Regions from separate parts of the Homo sapiens genome. Here all the other regions are linked to region 1. The links are contacts of gene promoters, found by promoter capture Hi-C in blood cells and fetal thymus (Javierre and others, 2016). All regions are on one chromosome and are shown on one strand. Each heading gives the region's core, a stretch centred on a gene start or on the middle of the fragment in contact. The rest is flanking DNA. Distances are from core to core; before and after follow the strand shown. Region 1 holds the start of ZBTB33 (zinc finger and BTB domain containing 33). Region 2 overlaps LAMP2 (lysosomal associated membrane protein 2). Region 3 has its middle 22 kb from the start of LAMP2.

Region 1 (3,170 bases), core at 575-3,074:
AGTTTACCATTTCTAAATGCCCACTTCCAAGAAAACACGAAACATTTTATTTTTGTTGGTAAAGAATCATATGCATTGGTATGAGAATTTTTTCCACACCAAATGAGTTAGTGAAAATGAAAACATTAACTTATTGGAATAGACTACTCTAGAAAAAGGGGATGATGTCAGTAGAATGCATTGTTGTGTAGCACTAGCAAAACATCATTTTTTGCACTTTGCAGAAGATATTTCCAGTAACAAAGAGGCCAGAGTTTAAAAAAACCCATATATTAAAAATATATAATATCCATACATATTATATATGGATATATTTTAATATATGGATATTATATATTAACAATTAGTTGACAAGTACTTTTAGTGAAGAAATATTTTTATTAATATTCTCTCCCTTTGAAGTTACCAAAAGGGTGTCGATGTCACAATGCTTAAGTTATATACAGGTGGAGGGCAGTTCTGTCTCAAATACCTTCTAAATTTTTCAAAATGATACCTTAAGAACAAACAGCAGGCAAAAAGTCTAAAAATCAAGATTTAAAACATTATTAGAAGGTGTTGCATGTTAACAGTACCAAGGAATTCCAGGTTACCATAAAGGCATTCATCATCAGAAAGGGTGACCTTTGGACAGTTTGCCAAAAACCAGGGCTTCCGAAATACGGGCATTTCGACAGAAGTCGATATTAAGTGGAAAGACAGGTTTTCTGAAAACGGCACGCAATTTTTGTCATTTGCTCCCGGGTTCTTCCAATATGGGAATGCGTCAAATGTACGTGTCCAGGTGACACTGGGACTCGGTTTCGTTTCGTTTATGTGTCCCCCTCCTCCCACTCAGGGTGGCCCCAGAGACAGCACAAGTCGGTCTGAACCCACTCCGAAGATATGCGATTCGACTGTGGAAAAGCCATTCCACATCACTGTGAAACCCTTGACCGAGGGCCAGTTCGGAGGAGCTGGTGACGGTGGAAAGAGATAAAAGCCATCCGCGAGGGAGTGAAACAAACCGACACGCGGCTCCCTGCGGCAGCTGAACCTCATCTCCCTTCCTCCACCTCCCTCTTCCCCATATGGACCCTGCCAGCTGCAACCGAGGTTTTTAACCCCAATTCACGTGCAAAGCAAGCTTCTTGCAAATACAGACGGAGGTACAAACAGCAGAGTGAGGGCGGGAGGAATATGGGGTACCAGGGAAAGTAGAAGGTGGCGAACGGCAGGGTGGGGTGTTGGGGGGGGGATGAAGCGAAGCAGGCGGCATTGTTGTGCCCCGGGAAGGGGACGGAAGGGGAGGATGGGCCTGGCAGAAAAGCTCTAAATCAAAGTAGGGGCTAGGGGAGTAAAAGAGGCACAAAAAAGCAGCGAGAGGGGCGAGGGAAAAGCCAAGTGGGTCTCTGTGATGGATTCCCCAAGCCCCGGGGCCTACCCAGGGCACCGGCAGCCCCTCGGCCCCTAACGGCGAAGGGGACCGCGCCGCGGCCCTCGCGGCTCGTCCCCTCCTTCGCTCCCCGGCCCACACAAAGAAAGAGCCGGAGGAGCTGAGCCTCCGACTCTGCCGCTTCCTGGTTCAAGTGAGGCGAATGCAAACGCAGGCGCGGCCCAGGGACGGAGAAGGCAAGCGCGCTCCTTCGCCCCCTCCCTGATTGGGGCCGGGTCCTCACCTGCTTCCCGGCGCCGCCGCTTCTCCTCCTCCGGACGCGCGGAAGGCTGGGAGTCCCCCAACAAGAAGAAGCCGCACTCCCCAGCGATTCTGCCCCTTCTTTAAACGTCGCTCCAGTCTGGGTCGACGTCGACGCGGCCGCCGCCTCCTGCCGCCAACGCTGCTACAGCTGCCCCACGCCGCCGACAGAGGGCACAGCGCGGGGGCGAAGCGCTGAAGCCAAAGGCGCCCTCCTCTTCCGAGCGCAGGCCGGGGTGGTCCGGAAGGGCCCGAGCTTGAGGCGGCTCCACTTCGGCGCCGTGCTCTGCCTTCGGTTCTTTCCGCAAGGGGGCGGAGGAAGACTGGGAAGCTCTTGTGTGTTCGGCTCTTTCCGGAGGGCTAACGGGTGGGAAAAAAGGAAAGGGAAAGATCGGGTAAGACAGTCGCAAGCAATTGGATGGAAGGGAAGCGAGTCGTTTTCATCGAAATTCAATGTGAACTTCTAGGGCATACAAACTTTTAGAGACTATACAGGTTTCATTTATTTTGCAAGTTTGAATCTGCTCTATTAGACTGTTTGCTAGATGATAAACCATCTTGAAATATAATCAAAATACATACAATCAAATAGAAATTCACAACTTCTTATGGTAATTCAAGTTCTGGGATAACAAGAGAGCAACTACATTACAGTAACTACTTTTAAGAAAGAAATTTAGTGTTTGGACAACTATCTTCTTAATTGAATACTAAATGGTGCAGTACTATGTTAATTCCCTCATTCCAACTAGCATTTACTGACCCCCTGCTTGATCTGTAGCAAAAACCCTATGTTAGGCTCTCGGGAATACAAAAATGAATAACCCAAAGGTCTCTACCTCTTTAGGGAGCTCAGTAGGTAGGTACACAAACATGGACAAAAATATTTGTACAAGGTGTAGAAGCAGAGAGAAGAGAATAGCAAATTGAATGCTGTCATTTGACCTGTATCTTGAAAGATTAATAATATTAACACTTGCATTTTTAATTTTTTATTGTTACTATTTTAATTTTTTATTATTACTATTTCCATAACATTTCATCTTCAGAGGGCTTTAGTGTCTGACACATAGTATGTGTTCAGTGATTGTTTAATGACCGAAAAAATACATTGTGAGTTACATAATTTTTTAAAATCCTCTGGTAATACCCTTCCAACTGAGTACCATAATAAATGAAGCAACAGGATGGGTGTTTGGAGAGCAAAATGTTTCCCTTTTAGGCTGGTTATTGATCGTATTCAACTAAGGAACCAAATAGTAACTTTTTTTCTGCCATAATTAAGGCCATTCACTACCTTCATTATCTTTTTAAAAAGATATATATAGGATAATACTGCATTCATTTCCAAAATCTTAAATTTGTACCTATTAATACCTTGCAGTGGAATTCCTGTGCTTCTTTCCTAAAAAATCTTGCTGAAAATGTCCATCAGGATATTAGACTGAAAACAGATGTAACTATATCTAATTTTCTCTGACAGGAAATCAGACAT
Region 2 (3,431 bases), core at 862-3,361, 180 kb before region 1:
TTTCATACATCTTAGTATTTTAGAAGGAATCTGATAAGCTACTTGTTACGTATCAAGAACATACTATAAGTTCAGTGTAAAATGTACCACTTAAGTTTCCTGCAGTTTTTCAGGAGGAATTCTTATAAGACTTGGACATTTTTAAGATGATAGTATTTCATCTGTTTATTTAGGTAGATAATGTTAAATTGTCTTGGGCTCATCTTCCACCCATCTCCTTTTCTTTTACCCTGGTAGCTAACTTTCTGCGTTAATAATCACCATTTCTTGTATTTGAAACTGGTATAGATATTCATGAATGATATTGAGTAGCTTCACGAATCTTTTCAGATGCATGTGATTTACTTAACACAGTTTGATTATAGATATAAAATGTATATAACAAAATATCACCTAAGAATGTGCTTCTTAATGTGGATCCTTCCAAAAAGAAGTTTTGACTCGTTTGTTTGTTTGTTTTGTTTTGTTTGAGATGGAGTCTCGCTCTGTTGCCCAGGCTTGGGTGTGTATAGTGGTGTGATCTCAGCTCACTGCAACCTCCGCCTCCCAGGTTCAAGCAATTCTTATGCCTCAGCCTCCCAAGTAGCTGGGATTACAGACGAGTGCCACCACACCTGGCTACCTTTTTATTTTTTTAGTAGAGATGGGGTTTTGCCATGTTGGCCAGGCTGGTCTCGAATTCCTGACCTCAAGTGATCTGCCTACCTCGACCTCCTGAACTGCTGTTATTATAGGCATGAAACGCTGTGCCTGGCCTCAACTGGTTTTTAAGAGAAGTTTTATTAGTTTTTGTTGTAAATGTATACCTCAGCTTTCCAGTTCTTGTGTTGAAAATTGTGTTTGAAAAATGTCTGAACTGGCAGAAAATTGAAGATTAACAGCATTTTTAATCTACATGAAACTTCTTACTGAAATTTTAGTGGCCATGGAACTTTTTAATCTTTAAAAATCTTTATTGCTTCTGTGGCTATTAAATTCTTCTGCAAATACACTTCTCTTTTCCCCAGAAGCATTTTCAATACAGCGTTAAGTATACATTAGGCAAGTAGATCAGATCAAAATGACTTATAGGATGAGATTTTCTTTTCTTCAGAATGTGATCCCATTAAAGTTACTGTTTTACCAACATTTTTTCCATTAACTAAATAATTTTTAAAGGTTGAATTCATACAATCAATAGTTATTATAAATTAATATTTCACATACTAATTGAGAGCATTTTAAGTAAATGACAGTATCTAGAAAGATCTTTGTATTAGCGGAATTGCCTTTTTGAGCTACTCTGAGAATATTTGTCTTACATGAAAGCCTTATTGGCAGTATTTATGAAAGTCGTTTCAGTACTAGGTCAAATACCCAATTTGGGAAAGAGAGAACTATGAGTCTGTTGCCAGAATAAGAAATTAATCTACTAATGAATTTTTAAAAAACCAAGTTATATTAAACCCACGGCATAATACTTTATGGTACATGTCACCTAATAGTTTATGGGCTGGGTGGTAATTTGGGAAATTGTAGGGGAGGTGCTAACTGGGGATTCTTAACACCATCTATTCACAGGTCACATCTGGCAGCCTCAGCTCTCTGGATTCTTAACAGAACCAAGAAGCAAGTAAAACAAATAATTGAACTGGCAGCCCAAGTCAATGTCAGAAAAGTTTATAAACTCCAGGGTTGCATTTTGTTCCTAGTTATTGCCCCAGAGGCTAGTGGGGGCGGCGGGGAAAGCTTGGCACATTTCTTGAATGCAAGCACAATCAGAATTGCCATGCAGCCTATTTGTCCTATCTTTGATACAATTCTAATAAGCTTAGTTATCTGATTTATCAGTCCCTGGTAGACTGCAAGCTAGGCAGAGAACTAGGGCAACAAGACACAGGAAATGGGAAATAGAAATAGCAGTTAACTTCTTTCCTGCAAGTGTATCCATCTGTAGCATTCCTTCCTCCTCTCCAGTCTCAGAGTAGGTTTTCTTTTCCTGGTTAAACTGAGGCAAACAGTTATGTCATCAAGGCCCATTTATATCTCTTTTCCCATTACTAAGTGACCCCAGATTGTTATGTATTGAGTTCTTAATGTCTTACGCTTTTGGAATTCAATCTCTTAACTTGTAGGAGAACTTGTACCATTCAGCATCTTCTGTCAATTGCTAATGGCTGTTTCCCTCATCCTATTTAAGTTCTTCTAACCTTAAGCTATCCTTTCTTGTCCCTATGTCCCCCTTCTAATTACCTCCCTTTTGTCCTGCCTTAATCATTCTAAACTTCTCAAAATGAGTATTGTATTTGTTACCCTGCCCAAGTTCTTGATGTCCTAACCAATCACTTCCCATTCCCTCTTAAACCTGCAGCAATTTTACTCATATCTCCCACCCTTCATATTGCTAGAGGCAATGGACATGTTTCAAAGCTTTCTACTATTATTTGCTGTCTTTCCACCTTAATTGAAACGTTCCATCCTTAGCTTCTCTGGCGCCATTTTCTATCTGCCCTTTTACATCTTTTTCCTACTCCATTGTCTATCCCACAGGTATTGGTGTTCCCAAGGGTTTTTGTCTCTGATCCTCTTTTTATTCTACTTCCCCTTACTGAGAAATGTTCTTGCCCATGTTTTAACTACCACTTAGGTTCATATAGCCACTTGGTTAGGACATAGTGATTTTTTTTTTTTTTTTGAGATGGGTTCTCGATATGCTGCCCAGGCTGGTCTTGAACTCCTGGGCTCAAACAGTTCTCCCATCTCAGCTTCCCAAGTAGCTAGGACTACAGGCGTAAGCTACCATGCTCAACTAAGGACACAGATATCTTAAACTCACATATCTAAAACTGAGCATCTCTCTCTTCCACGTATCCTTTTTACCACCTGTTCCATATAACTACAAAAAACTGAAATGCATATATTCTTCCTCTTTTATAGAATGGCACCAGCATCTACATAATCAGTCAAGTGTGGAATTGGAAACCATTCTATTATCTCCTCCTCGTACACCCCCTACATCCGTTTGGTCAATTTTGCCTTCTAATTTGATCTCCAGTCTGTGCCTTCTGCTTTTCTTCTGCACTTCATTAATCCAGCTCAGGACAATATTATTGGTTACCTGGACTCTAGTGATAAAGATATGTCCTACCTTACTACCTCCATCTGCCATAACTTCTGAAATGAAATCCTGCTTAATATCCTGCTGCTGAATTTTTTTTTCATCAGGATAAGGCCAGACTACCTAAGAGCATATAGTACCTTTGTGACCTGGGTCCCTGCACACTTTTTCTGCCTTCTATCCAGCCAAAAATACCTTTTGATCCATTGTTCTAGCTCTGCCAACCTGCTTGCGTTTCCCTTGAAGTGCTATGTCTTTTTACTCTCCATATTTTTGTCTGTGCTATTTCTTATACCTGGAATGCCCTTCCCCCATTACTTGCATCATTAATTCC
Region 3 (2,941 bases), core at 42-2,541, 240 kb before region 1:
GGATTACAGACATCTGTCACCATGCCTGGCTAAGTTTTGTATTTTTAGTAGAAACAGGGTTTCACCATGTTGGCCAGGCTGGTCTTGAACTCCTGACCTCAAGTAATCTGCCCGCCTTGGCCTCCCAAAGTGCTGGGATTACAGGAGTGAGCCACCACGCTGGGCTGAGACTTAACATTTAAATGTATTACAATTAGGTCCTATACACAGAAGATCTTTTCAGGACATGTAAGCATGCAAGTGCACAGCCTCTGTAAACCGGCCAGAACCAGTCCATGGTGGGAGATCTTATCAGGAGAAAGTTGCTAAAATCAGTCTGTTGTCCAATTAAAGATGTAATTACGGCTGGGGGAACAGAGGTTCAGTTAGTCAGGGTCTGTGAGCTAGATGAGTTGTAATTGTTTTAATATTATCTCAAGACCAGTGCTTGTTTAGCTGCTAGAGAAAAAGAAAAACCTTGAGACAGTTAGAGCATAGTCGTATATGCATGTTTGTTCAATATGCATGCGTCAAGACCACCTTCATGAATATTCATAACTCCTCCTGTAAGCTGTTGCGTACATATAACTTTAGCCAACCTCTTTAGCATAAAGCTCCTACCCCAACCCTTCCTCCTTAACCCTTGCCTGGCATGGCCTTAGGTCCTGTTTATAATTTCATATCTTATTGCCACAAAGAGGGTATTGTGTCAGTCTTACAGTTTCTATTTTAACATTAGTGTTGGTTGGTTGTGTCAAAACCATATAAGGGAGAGGGTATAACAAGACGTGTCTGACCTATCATCCCATCATGGCCAGGAACTCAGTTTTAAGGTTTTTCTGGGGTCCTCTTGGCCAAGAAGTGGTCTGTTCATTCGGCAGGGGGCTTAGGATTTTATCTTGTTTATATTACAACAGCGTTTATGATGCTGTCAGATGTCTTCTCTTCAACAGAAATCAGTTCCAAAATTGTTATTTTGATTTCATACATTGGATGAAATAAATGTATCACTATTAATTTAACTTCTATTTGAAGCACCTGAGGACACCGATATAAGGTCGGCATCATTAAACTGTTTGGCTAATGCAGCCAACACCTTAATAGCTACAACTTCACTTTTTGTATGTGCACAAGGAAAGTTGGAATAAAAATTGAGCAAAATGAATTTAGAAGAACAGTCATTTGATCTAGATGAGAATCACGTTGAATAGAGTTATATGTAAACCTGTGGTCCTTAAGCACATTCTTAAAATAACTACTGCCTTATGAGGTAGATGCTGATGCTTCCTCAACAGACCATTGCCTTCTGGGTTTTGTGTGGTCAGTTATATCACTGTGGCCCTCACAGTGGTAAACATCAATAGACATTTTGTGCAAGTTACATGTACATCACCAAATTTAGTACCTGCTTTTTTTTAGAGATGGAGTCTTGCTCTGTTGCCCAGGCTGGAGTGCAGTGGTGCAATCATAGCTTACTGCAGCCTCAAACTCCTGAGTGCAAGCGAAACTCCAGCTTCAACTTCCCAAAGTGCTGGGATTACAGGCATGAGCCACCATGCCCGCCAGTACCTAAATTTTCAGTAAACATGTACTTTCATTTATTTGAGCTCATTACTGCTAAGAAGGTTTATAACAAAATAAAAAAGCATTATCAATCAATACATAGTTGTATATTTACACCATGCGTAAATTATACAACCACTGTTGTGAGAATTTTCAGACTGCTCTCTATATCTTCTGTGGCTGGTATGCTCAGCCTCTATTTCCTATGTCTATACAGGTACACCTTACCTATAATTGCCCACATTTCCCATTGACCCTGCTAACTGGCGACCTGATGGCTTCTTTTCTTTTCTTTTCTTTTTTTAACTTTAAGTTCTGGGATACATGTGCTGAACGTGCAGGTTTGTTACATAGGTATACATGTGCCATGGTGGTTTGTTGCACTTATCAACCCATCATCTAGGTTTTAAGTCCCGCATGCATTAGGTATTTGTCCTAATGCTCTCCCTCCCCTTTCCCCCCAACCCCTCAACAGGCCCCGGTGTGTGATGTTCCCCTCCCTGTGTCCATGTGTTCTCATTGTTCAACTCATACTTATGAGTGAGAACATGCGGTGCTTGGTTTTCTGTTCCTGTGTTAGTTTGCTGAGGATGATGGCTTCCAGCTTCATCCATGTCCCTGCAAAGGACATGATGTTATTCTTGTTTATGGCTGCATAGTATTCCATGGTGTATATGTGCCACATTTTCTTTATCCAGTCTATCATTGATGGGCATTTGGGTTGGTTCCAAGTCTGACCTGATGGCTTCTGAAACACACATGGAACTCACAGGCCAAAGAACCACTGGCCAGTACTCCAAGTGGCAGGCAGCTGAACAGTGTCAGATACTTCCTCCACCACTACATGAGATCTGAGGTTGTTATCAGTCCCTAACTGCTGATGTCTGGGCATATTTCCTTTTATCAATGAGTTCCTCCGCCTGCTTTCCTTGATGGGGAGGTTAGTTATGTTATTTCTGGAAAGGGTAAGGAAAAGAGAGATTATCAGTGGTTGTTTTTCAGATTTAATCAGGTGAGAGCCAAAATGAGAACTCTGTAGAAACTGGAAGTTCAAAGTGGAGATCTACTAAACTCAAACCAAATTATTTTAGTGGAACTATTGAGAGTAATATTTAGTTCAAAAATGAAAAACATGTGAGACAAATGCTAAATTGGATGAGATGTGGGACAATGGATATAAACTGAGACTGTCCCAGGCAAAATGAGAATGTAGAGTCATCCTGGTTATACTACTTCTCACTAGATTATCATTTCTTTTTGTTTGTTTGTTTGTTTGAGAAAAGGTCGTACTCTGTCACTCTGGCTTGAATGCAGTGGTGCAACCACGGCTCACTGCAGCCTCAACTTCCCAGGCTCAAGCCATCCTCTAACCTCAGCCTCCCCAGTAGCCGGGACTATA

What was found. The method cuts DNA at HindIII sites, captures the fragments that hold promoters and counts their contacts. A CHiCAGO score of 5 or more calls a contact.
Region 2: a fragment that was not itself captured here is called in contact with the fragment with the promoter of ZBTB33 in region 1 in 1 of 17 cell types (M1 macrophages); the score reaches 6.6 in M1 macrophages.
Region 3: a fragment that was not itself captured here is called in contact with the fragment with the promoter of ZBTB33 in region 1 in 1 of 17 cell types (non-activated CD4 T cells); the score reaches 5.4 in non-activated CD4 T cells.

What each region holds. Positions count from the first base shown.
Region 1 is chrX:120,249,466-120,252,635 of GRCh38, reverse strand. It overlaps ZBTB33 (zinc finger and BTB domain containing 33), which reads right to left and starts at 1,824. Exons shown (of 3, transcript NM_001184742.2): 1 at 1,659-1,824. It also overlaps a transcript of TMEM255A not described here. RefSeq lists an enhancer at 1,279-2,117. The HindIII fragment of the contact is 5,064 bases long and covers 1,129-3,170 here.
Region 2 is chrX:120,432,172-120,435,602 of GRCh38, reverse strand. All of the region lies in intron 8 of LAMP2 (lysosomal associated membrane protein 2), which reads left to right. Among named protein-coding and RNA genes, the nearest start is that of LAMP2, 35 kb to the left of the region's middle. The HindIII fragment of the contact is 600 bases long and covers 1,812-2,411 here.
Region 3 is chrX:120,489,562-120,492,502 of GRCh38, reverse strand. No RefSeq gene overlaps it. Among named protein-coding and RNA genes, the nearest start is that of LAMP2, 22 kb to the right of the region's middle. The HindIII fragment of the contact is 6,082 bases long and covers 1-2,941 here.